3 separate regions of the Homo sapiens genome follow, and regions 2 and 3 are each linked to region 1. Evidence: promoter capture Hi-C in human tissues and cell types (Jung and others, 2019). All regions are on one chromosome and are shown on one strand. Each heading gives the region's core, a stretch centred on a gene start or on the middle of the fragment in contact. The rest is flanking DNA. Distances are from core to core; before and after follow the strand shown.

Evidence for each region. Contacts are between HindIII fragments. The study calls those that stand out against the background at their distance.
Region 2: a fragment that was not itself captured here is called in contact with the fragment with the promoter of ARL2 in region 1 in 1 of the 25 tissues and cell types used here (aorta).
Region 3: a fragment that was not itself captured here is called in contact with the fragment with the promoter of ARL2 in region 1 in 1 of the 25 tissues and cell types used here (liver).

Annotation. Positions count from the first base shown.
Region 1 is chr11:65,012,830-65,015,786 of GRCh38, reverse strand. ARL2 (ARF like GTPase 2) reads right to left here and starts at 1,627. Exons shown (of 5, transcript NM_001667.4): 1 at 1,515-1,627. The coding sequence starts at 1,579. ARL2-SNX15 (ARL2-SNX15 readthrough (NMD candidate)) reads right to left here and starts at 1,627. Exons shown (of 11, transcript NR_037650.2): 1 at 1,515-1,627. RefSeq lists a silencer at 1,021-1,780. The HindIII fragment of the contact is 13,144 bases long and covers 1-2,957 here.
Region 2 is chr11:65,173,920-65,177,206 of GRCh38, reverse strand. It overlaps the pseudogene PGAM1P8. Among named protein-coding and RNA genes, the nearest start is that of SPDYC, 5.3 kb to the right of the region's middle. The HindIII fragment of the contact is 8,198 bases long and covers 1-3,287 here.
Region 3 is chr11:64,773,037-64,776,403 of GRCh38, reverse strand. SF1 (splicing factor 1) reads left to right here. Exons shown (of 13, transcript NM_004630.4): 3 at 2,899-2,974. Among named protein-coding and RNA genes, the nearest start is that of SF1, 3.8 kb to the left of the region's middle. The HindIII fragment of the contact is 3,858 bases long and covers 1-3,185 here.

The DNA of each region.
Region 1 (2,957 bases), core at 378-2,877:
GTATGTATGGAGAATATATATATGTATAAATAGAGACAGAGTCTCACTATGTTGCCCAGGCTGGTCTCAAACACCTGGGCTCAAGCGAACCTCCCACCTCAGCCTCCCAAAGTGCTAGGGTTACAGGTGTGTGCCACCGCACCCAGCCTCTATTACATATTTTACTTACTTCCTGTGTTATCATCTTTCTACCCGCGGGCAACCCCCCCGCCACACACACACACACGCATTACAGAATTTCCATGAAGGTAAGATTTTTTAGTTTTATTACCCTGGGCACTAGGACAGTGTCTAGCACATATTAGGCACTCAATATTTATCAAATGAGTGAACTGTATGCTTTTCTTAGAGCTCTTTAAAGCAGACATGCGGCCCGGCGCAGTGGCTCACGCCCATAATCCCAACAGTTTGGGAGGCCAAGGCGGGTGGATCACTTGAGGTCAGGAATTCGAGAACAGCCTGACCAACAAGGTGAAACCCCGTCTCTACTAACAATATTTAAAAAAATAGCCGGGCGTGGTGGCGGGCACCTGTAATCCCAGCTACTTGGGAGGCTGAGGCAGGAGAATTGCTTGAACTCGGGGGGCGGAGGTTGCAGCGAGCTGAGATTGTGCCACTGCACTCCAGCCTGGGCAACAAGAGCGAAACTCCGTCTCAAACAAAACAAAATAAAACAGACATGGGCCGGACTCCGTGGCTCATGCCTATATTCCCAGAGTTTTGGGAGGCTGAGGCAGGAGGATCACTTAAGCCTAGAAGCTGGAGGCTGCGGTGAGCCTTGATTGTGCCACTGCACTCCAGCCAGGGCAACAGAGCAAGACCCTGTCTCAAAAAACAAAACAGTCATGATGTGATTATTAAGTTATATGTGCACGTAAGCGTCTTATCTCCCCAGCCATTCCCCCGCGGAGCCTGGCACAGAGCTGGGGGAACAGGTGCGGGCGCCTAACTGGACTCAGAAGGCGCACAGGGCGCACGGGACACTCGGGCCCACACACACACATCCTCAGCCGCAGGGACAACCACGGGCCGCGTAACACCAAAGAGACGGACTGTTGGATCCACGCTCGAAAGGATCCGCGGAGCCCACACGCGCCACCCGCCACCCCGCACGCCCCCGGGATTCGGAGCTCGAGGGCGGGGCCGGGGCCTGGAACCCTCGGGCCCGGGGGAGGAGATCAGAGCCGGGAGGGCAGCGGCCCCACGCTTGGGCCAGGCCGCCGGGTGGTGGCGTCCGAGTTATCTCCGGGACCCACCACCCCTGACACTCGGGCCGCCTAGCCCCGCCGCTGCGCCTGCAGGACCGCTTCTGCGGCCCTCGGAGCTGGCCCCTGCCCCAGTCCTGGGGTGCGGCTCCTCCCGGCCCGACGGGGCGATTGATGGGGCCCGCGTGGTGACGCCAGGGGCAGTTGGGACGCGCCGGCCGCCGCGTTCCGCTCCCGACAGGGGGCGCCCGGCACCGCCTGCCCGGCTGGACCCCGCCACCCTCGCGGTTCCGGCGTCCGGTAGGATACAGCATGAGCAGTCGCAGCTCCCGCTCTTTCTGCTTCATCTTCTTCAGAATGGTCAGGAGCCCCATGGTCCCCGGAGCCCCCTCCCGGCCGCCGTTTCTTCCCAGTCCCGGGACCCCGCTCCCGGTTCCTGTTGGCTATCACGCTCGCCGACGGCATAGTCGATTGGCCGGACGCTCGTTTGGTCCCGCCCTTGCCGCACGTGACCGCGAGGTCGCCCGCGCAGCTGCTGCGAGGGTCCCTCTAGCGGCGCGGGGGGTTTCTGTGCTGCCGCCCGCCCTGACGCTGCGCCTCCCGAGGGCTGAGGCTGGGGGAGCAAGGGCGACTCCCCCACCCTTTCCCCTGCCGGACTGGGGCTCTTGGCCGGAGCGGAAACCTTGAAGTTCCTGAGTTGCATCTTGGCTGCGTCTGACCTGAGAGTCAGAACCCAGGGCCCCCAGGTACGGACGAACTCATCCTGGGGCCAGTGTAGGCCCCCGTTCCCAGCAACACAGTCCAAATCCTGCTCATCTGGGCCCTCGGCATCATCCTCTGACAGAGCGGAAAGTTGGGCCTCCCCCTACCCGGCTCCGGTGGCTCTCAGTTCAGGGCGGCGGTGCCCCCTGGAGGCCGTTCGGAAACATGCGGGGCGTCCCTGGGTTCCAATGACGGAATTGCAGTCCCGCCCCAAAGGCTGCCCCCACCCAGAGGCCCAGCGTTTCCCTGTTCAGAAGCACAGTTCCTACTTTTGCAGATGGAAAAACTGAGGCCCAGATGGTGCTTAGCACAGTGGCTGGCATGTAGTAGGTGCTCAATAAATATTTGTTGTTGAATGAATGGCTTTGTCCAAGAGTTTCATTCTTTACTTTAGCGCTCAAGAAGTCCAGAAGAAGTGAGGAAATAGGTCAAGGACCAAGCCCTTTTGTAAACTCAGGAGACAGCCTTATTGCTGCAGGTAAGTGTGGATAGGCAGCACGGAAGAGCCTCTCTCATGCTTGGGAAAGAGCTGTCAGCACCAGCTGAGGACAATAGCTAACTCCTGTGTAACTGTTTGCAACGCACTTCACGTGTTCAGCTTCATCCTCCCTGCAACCCTGAGAGGTTTATATTCTTTTCGTAGCTATGATAATGGAATCCAGAGTGTTTAAGGAGCATGGGTGAGATTCAAACTCAGGTCTAGTAAATGGTAAAGCACAATGTCTTCATGCCTCCATGAAGTTTGCCTAGAGAGAGGTCTGGAAGAAGCTGGAGCTTCCCATCTTGCAGAAAGGGGCTTGTGGTCAGAGGAGGGCTGAACAGATAGGCTGCCTGAGTGGGACCCTTCGGTCAGCACCATTTACCCTCCATCACACACACACAAGGAAGAAAGTGAGCATATCGCCTACCCAGAGGCTTCGAAATGCAGCTAAGATCAAAATGGGAAATGCTGGCCGGGCGCCATGGCTCACGCCTGTAAACCCAGCACTT
Region 2 (3,287 bases), core at 555-3,054, 160 kb before region 1:
AGATCAAGACCATCCTGGCTAACACGGTGAAACCCCATCTCTACTAAAAATACAAAACGAATTAGCCGGGCGTGGTGGCGGGCGCCTGTAGTCCCAGCCACTTGGGAGGCTGAGGCAGGAGAATGGCGTGAACCCAGGAGGCAGAGCTTGCAGTGAGCCAAGATTGCGCCACTGCACTCCAGCCTCGGCGACAGAGTGAGACAACGTCTCAAAAAAAATAAATAAATAAAAATAAAAATTAAATGTTAACCTTCAATATTTAAACGTACAAAAATGAAAACGAAAATACAGCCAGAAGCTGGCTGGGCACGGTGGCTCATGCCTGTAATCCTAGCACTTTGGGAGGCTGAGGTGGGTGGATCACTTGAGGTCAGGTGTTCAAGACCAGCCTGGCCAACATCGTGAAACCCTATCTCTACTAAATATACAAAAATCAGCTGGGCATGGTGGCACACACCAGCAATCCCAGCTACTTGGGAGACTGAGGCACAAGAATTGCTTGAACCCGGGAGATGGAGGCGGAGGTTGCGGTGAGTGGAGATCGCACCATTGCACTCCAGCCTGGGCAACAAGAGCAAAACTCCATCTCAAAAAAAAAAAAAAAAAAATACAGCCAGGAGCTAAAGGAGAAACTTTTTGTATCATCTCAGTGTGGAAACAGTCTTTTTAACTATGACACAAAACCCAAAAGTCATAAAATTGCATTTTTTACTACATTAAAAATCCATACAGTTATGTCAAAATGATGGACTGAAGAAAACATTTACAATTAACATCTTAAAGGAGTATTTTTCTCCATATACATATATAAAAAATCATGTTCTGGGTGTGGTCGCTCATTCCTATAATCCTAACACTTTGGGAGGCCTAGACAGGAGGATTGATTGAGGCTAGGAGTTTGAGACTAGCCTGGGCAACATAATGAGACCCCATCTATAAAAAAATTAGAAAATTAGCCAGGTGTGGTGGTGCATGCCTGTCATCCCAGCTACTCCAGAGGCTGAGATGGGAGGGTGGCTTGAGCCCAGCAGTTGGAGGCTGCAGTGAGCTATGATTGTGCCACTTCCCTCCAGCCTGGGCAATAGAGCAAGATGCTGTCTCTAAGAATAAAATAAAAGTAAATCCCAGCACTTTGGGAGGCCAAAGTGGGTGGATCGCTTAAGCCCAGGAGTTCGAGATCAGCCTGGACAATACGGTGAGACCCTGTCTGTACCAAAAATACAAAAAGTTAGCTGGGCATGGTGGCCTGTAGTCCCAGCTATCCCAGAGGTCGAGGCTGCAGTGAGCTGTGATCGCACCACTGTATTCCAGCCTGGATGACAAAGCAAGACCCTGTCTCAAAAAAAAAAAGTTCACAAATAAAAGAAGACAAATAGGTCTTAAACATATGACAAGATGTTGAGCTCACTGAAAAGCAAATGTGAATTAAAATTTCACCAAGAGACTGTTTCCCACTTAGCAGTTTGGCAAAGATAAAAATCTGGCACCTCACGGCTGGGTGCGGTGGCTCACGCCTGTAATCCCAGCACTTTGGGAGGCCGAGGCAGGCAGATCACGAGGTCAGGAGGTCAAGATCAGCCTGACCAACATGATGAAACCCCGTTGCTACTAAAAATACAAAAAAAAAATTAGCCGGGCGTGGTGACGCACATCTGTAATCCCAGCTACTCAGGAGGCTGAGGCAGGAGAATCGCTTGAACCAGGGAGGCGGAGGTTGCTGCAAAGCATGGTGAGGCCCAGGTGAAGATCTGGAGGCACTCCTATGATGTCCCACCACCTCCAATGGAGCCCAACCATCCTTTCTATAGCAACATCAGTAAGGATCGCAGGTATGCAGACCTCACAGAAGATCTGCTACCCTCCTGTGAGAGTCTGAAGGACACTATTGCCAGAGCTCTGACCTTCTGGAATGAAGAAATAGTTCCCCAGATCAAGGAGGGGAAACGTGTACTGATTGCAGCCCATGGCAACAGCCTCCGGGGCATTGCCAAGCATCTGGAGGGTCTCTCTGAAGAGGCTATCATGGAGCTGAACCTGCCGACTGGTATTCCCATTGTCTATGAATGGGACAAGAACTTGAAGCCTATCAAGCCCATGCAGTTTCTGGGGGATGAAGAGATGGTACGCAAAGCCATGGAAGCTGTGGCTGCCCAGGGCAAGGCCAAGAAGTGAAGGCCAGCAGGGAGGATACTGTTCCCAGGAGCACCCTCCCTGCCTGTCTTGTCCCTCTGCCCCTCCCACCTGCACATGTCACACTGACCCCATCTGTAGACATCTTGAGTTGTAGCTGCAGATGGGGACCAGTGACTCCCATTTTCATTTTAGCCATTTTGTCTCCTGCACCCACTCCCTTCATACAATCTAGTCAGAATAGCACTTCTAGAGCACAGGTTCTCAGTCCAAGCTGTGGAAAAGCTCCCCTTATCCAACAGAGTTTAAAAGTAGTGACTTGGGTTTTTGCGAGTTGCTTTGTTTACTAAGGACTTGTGGGGAGGAACCATGCTAAGCCATGACCAATGAGGAGAAGCAACAGAGCCTGTCTGTCCCCAGGAGCCAGTCCTCTGCTCGTCTGCAGTCAGGCCACTGCCTGAGGGCTCTAGTCATTCCAGTGGAAGATGAATGTAACCTGCATGGTGATGTGACAACTGTTTCCTCCCTGACGCCAGAGGAGCTGGCTCTAGAAGGTTGGGATCAATCCTGAATTTAGTTATGTGTTACATTTAATTTAAGAAGTATAGTATATATAAATAATACAAAACAATAACCCTTCTGGGGTTTCTCGTGGCGGTTGAAATAGTCCCACATGTAGTCATCAGAAAATAAGCCATTCCTCATACCAATATAGGATCAGCTCCTTGACCTCTGAGGGGCAGGAGTGCTTCCTGGTGTGGGTATTACAATCCCTTCCTGCCTTGTTTCGTGACAGTGAAATGCCTCTTGGTCCTGTCCAAGTATGTCTTTCACTGATTTCTGAATCATGTTCTACTTGCTTGGCCCTGCCACATGGGTCCAGTGTTCATCTGAGCATAACTGTACTAAATCTTTTTCCAGATCAGTATAATAAAGGAGTGATGTGAAAAAAAAAAAAAAGAAAGAAAAAAAGAAATTAACCCTTTTGAGTCCTCATGTCTCTTGGGGGAGGGGGGTTGTTTATTATAATTACAATATTATATTTGACTGTAGCTCAAGGAAGGGATCAAGTCTTATTCCTAAGTAAACCTGGCCCTGAAGGCATTTCTAGACTAAATAAAGAGCTGTCTTCCATTCAAGTTTTGTTTCCCAATATG
Region 3 (3,367 bases), core at 7-2,506, 240 kb after region 1:
TCTTTTTTGAGATGAGATACTTTCACGACTTTGGTATCATCTGTCAGTTTTTGCCCAGTGAGTTCTGCATTTGCAGCTCCTTGTTTTGGTCTGTTCGTAACTGCAGTGTTCTCCATGAGTATCAGGAAGGTAGGGTTTCACTTAGGAGTAAGAACAGTCCCCAGTCCAGCAGCCACCCTTTTCAGCTGCTGTTCATTGCCAGTTGATGAGGTGAGTGTCATCTGCCTCTCTGGACAGGCCCCAGTGGAGAACACCGCAGGTACTGTAAACCAAGTACTTTTCACAGCGTGGCCTTTCACCATAATTTTATATTTCTCCCCCTAAAATGTGGTCTTTTACTTTTTATAGGTACTTTCTGAAAAAAAAAAAATGACAAAAAGTGGTTCTGAAAGTGTGTTTACAATTTACCCCTTTTTATTTTCTTGAATTTAAGAGTTTAACCTTCCCTTCAACATCTTTTCTGGTTTGGTCTATGGAGAGCTGTCTTAAAATGAAGGCTCTTGTATTTACTTTTAAAGAACTCTGCTGGGAAAGGGATATTGCATGGATATGGAATGAAGTGCTAGGATAAAAAGGTTTTATTTGCTGGGAGGTTTTGAGAATTAATGACTATCCACAGTGGAATTGAAATTAACCTCAAAATTGCTTTTTTGGAAAAAAAAGTTTTTAATGCAAGTTTTATCTTTATATACCTGTGCAGCTGTCTCAAAAAAGTTCACTTTATAAACATTTCCTACTAACCAAATAAACATCCCCTTTGGAGGAAATTCGGGCAAAGACCTCCTAAACCTACGAGGCTGTGGCCTTCACAACCAAAAAGCTTCAAGGCCAGCATGTTACTACTTTTGAGGGTCTTAATTTCCTGTTTTTTAGACTGCTGAGAATTTTGAGGCGTTGGAATTGTCTGTCTCCTTTCACAGTACTACTAATACTTGTTCTTTCCCCTACTGTTCCTGTCTACTCCCACCCATTCCATTGTGTCTCATATTAGACTAGTCTGGGTCTTTACATCCTTGTGAAATGCCCCTAGTGGAGTGATATCCCAAGAACACAAGCATACTTAGAAGATGGGAAGAGCACAAATTCTTTATATCTCCATTTCTGTTTTTGTGGAGGGCTAGTTAGTTCACTGGGCCCTAAGGACTATTTATAGCTATAATCAAAATAGAATCAAAGGAGAGGTGTAGTTCTCCACAGAAGAGAATGACCCTTTTTATTTAGATCAGGCCCCACATCTCCATAGTCAGCTAGGAAGACTCACCTTCTCCCCTCAGTGAAGGTGACTTTCACCTCGAGTTGTTGAGCTTAATACTCAACTGCAAAGTCAGAACTTTTTAGGCATAAAGGAGCTTGGGGAACCATGTGTCTTACTACTTTTCTGTCTCCCACGGTACATACTGCTTTGTCCAGGATGCCCTCAATATCTTTTTTTTTTTTTTTTTGAGAGACTGAGTCTTGCTGTGTCGCCAGGCTGGAGTGTAGTGGTGCGATCTCGGCTCACTGCAACCTGCGTCTCCCGGGTTCAAGTGATTCTCCCACCTCAGCCTCCCAAGTAGCTGGGACTACAGGCGCACGCCACCATGCCCAGCTAATTTTTTTTGTAGTTTTAGTAGAGACGGGGTTTCACCATGTTGGCCAGGATGGTCTCGATCTCTTGTCCTCATGATCTGCCTGCCTTGGCCTCCCAAAGTACTGGGATTACAGGTGTGAGCCACTGTGCCCGGCCAGTATTTTCTTTCGATAATAATGGGTTTTCATTTCTTCAGGGTTTTAGTGTGTGGGTGTGGTATAGCCCTGTGGATGTATTTAAAGTTAGAAGGAATCTTTGGTTAGACACGCATTAATCCTATCTTGGAGCCAGCTCAGTTTTAACCCAACCTAGTAACATTTGCCCTTATTGGAGATGCCTGCTGAAAATTCTCAGATGCTGCGAAGGTAAGGAACAGGTGGTTATTCCGCATGTTGAAGAAAGCTGCTCTGGCTCTGCAGTTCCCATTATCTTGGAAAATCAGCTGTGTAACATTTCCCTGGCGTCACTGGCAACTTTTGTGAAACCCTCATCTCTCTTTTTCATGCACAGCCTCATTGGTCAAGGCCCGAGGGCCAAGTACATTGTCCTTGAACACACATTCCATTCTTCTACACGCCTGCTCCCCATATGAACAGTGAGCCTGAAAACAAATTCTTAGCACTTTATGGTTACTGGTTTATTAAGATATGTGGTTTGTCATTTAATATTTGAATAAATATTTCATATAATTGAATAAGAGCTGCAGGTATTGGGAGACCCTTACTAGTACAGGTCTGGTTGTACAGAAAGAGTATGTACAAATTTCTATAAGGTGTTGAATTTTGTTATTAAATGTCTTATTTAAGGAATTTTAAATGTATTAATGAAAATGATCTTTGCTCAATTGGTATTTTTCCTTGTCCCATGTTAATTGGGTCTCATTTTGGGCTATGTTTAACATTTAATGAAGAAAAAACTCAATTCTTGCCCTCAAGTAATTTGATGGGAGTCGGGTATTGGTGACGTAACATGGTTTATGGTTCTGGGTACCAATGGTAAGCAAGCCTTGGTGGGGAGGAAGAGGTGAAACACCTCCTAATAATTGCTTGGATGTTAGCCTTAGTGAACAGTCTTTATTGCTAACCCCTCTTCCAACAAACTGTTTGCTTCCTTAAGTGATAACCATTTTGAAGTGAAAAAAACCTATAGATGTAAAAGGACTCCTGCCGATAGGTGGTTGGGGGTTTTTGCTTCAATGTGTTCACTGATCAGTCGTCCCTTTCAAAGTCTCCGAGTTCTTCATGCTTGTTGTTGAGATTTGAGATGTTTATTGGTAACATTGTCTTTTTTCCATCCTTTTTTTTCTTTCCTAACCTGGTTTCTTCCAGTGCAACTGCAGATAGAAGACCTGACTCGTAAACTGCGCACAGGAGACCTGGGCATCCCCCCTAACCCTGAGGACAGGTTGGGAAACAGTTTTAACCAGCTGACAGTAACGCTTTTACCTTTTTCTCAATACGTTTTACTGGTGGCAACATATTGTGTCAGTTCAATAAAATCATAGTATGACGACTGTACCCTGACCACTTTGGGGATTAAGGTTTAATTAGAAATATGTATGGTCAGTCAACAGTTAGAAAATTGGAATAAAACTTAAAAATGTTGGGAGAATAAAAAGTTACAGGAAAATGGACAACTGGTTTCCAATTGGTAAGCATGTAGATCTTAACCTGATTTACCCACCCTTAGGGGACAGTGAGGTGGCCCGTTAACCTGCCTTTTCAGTACCTGCTTTGGCCAAAAGCCCAGGGCATAGAGTTTTTCTCACAGGTACACAGTGCAGGGACTAAAAATATT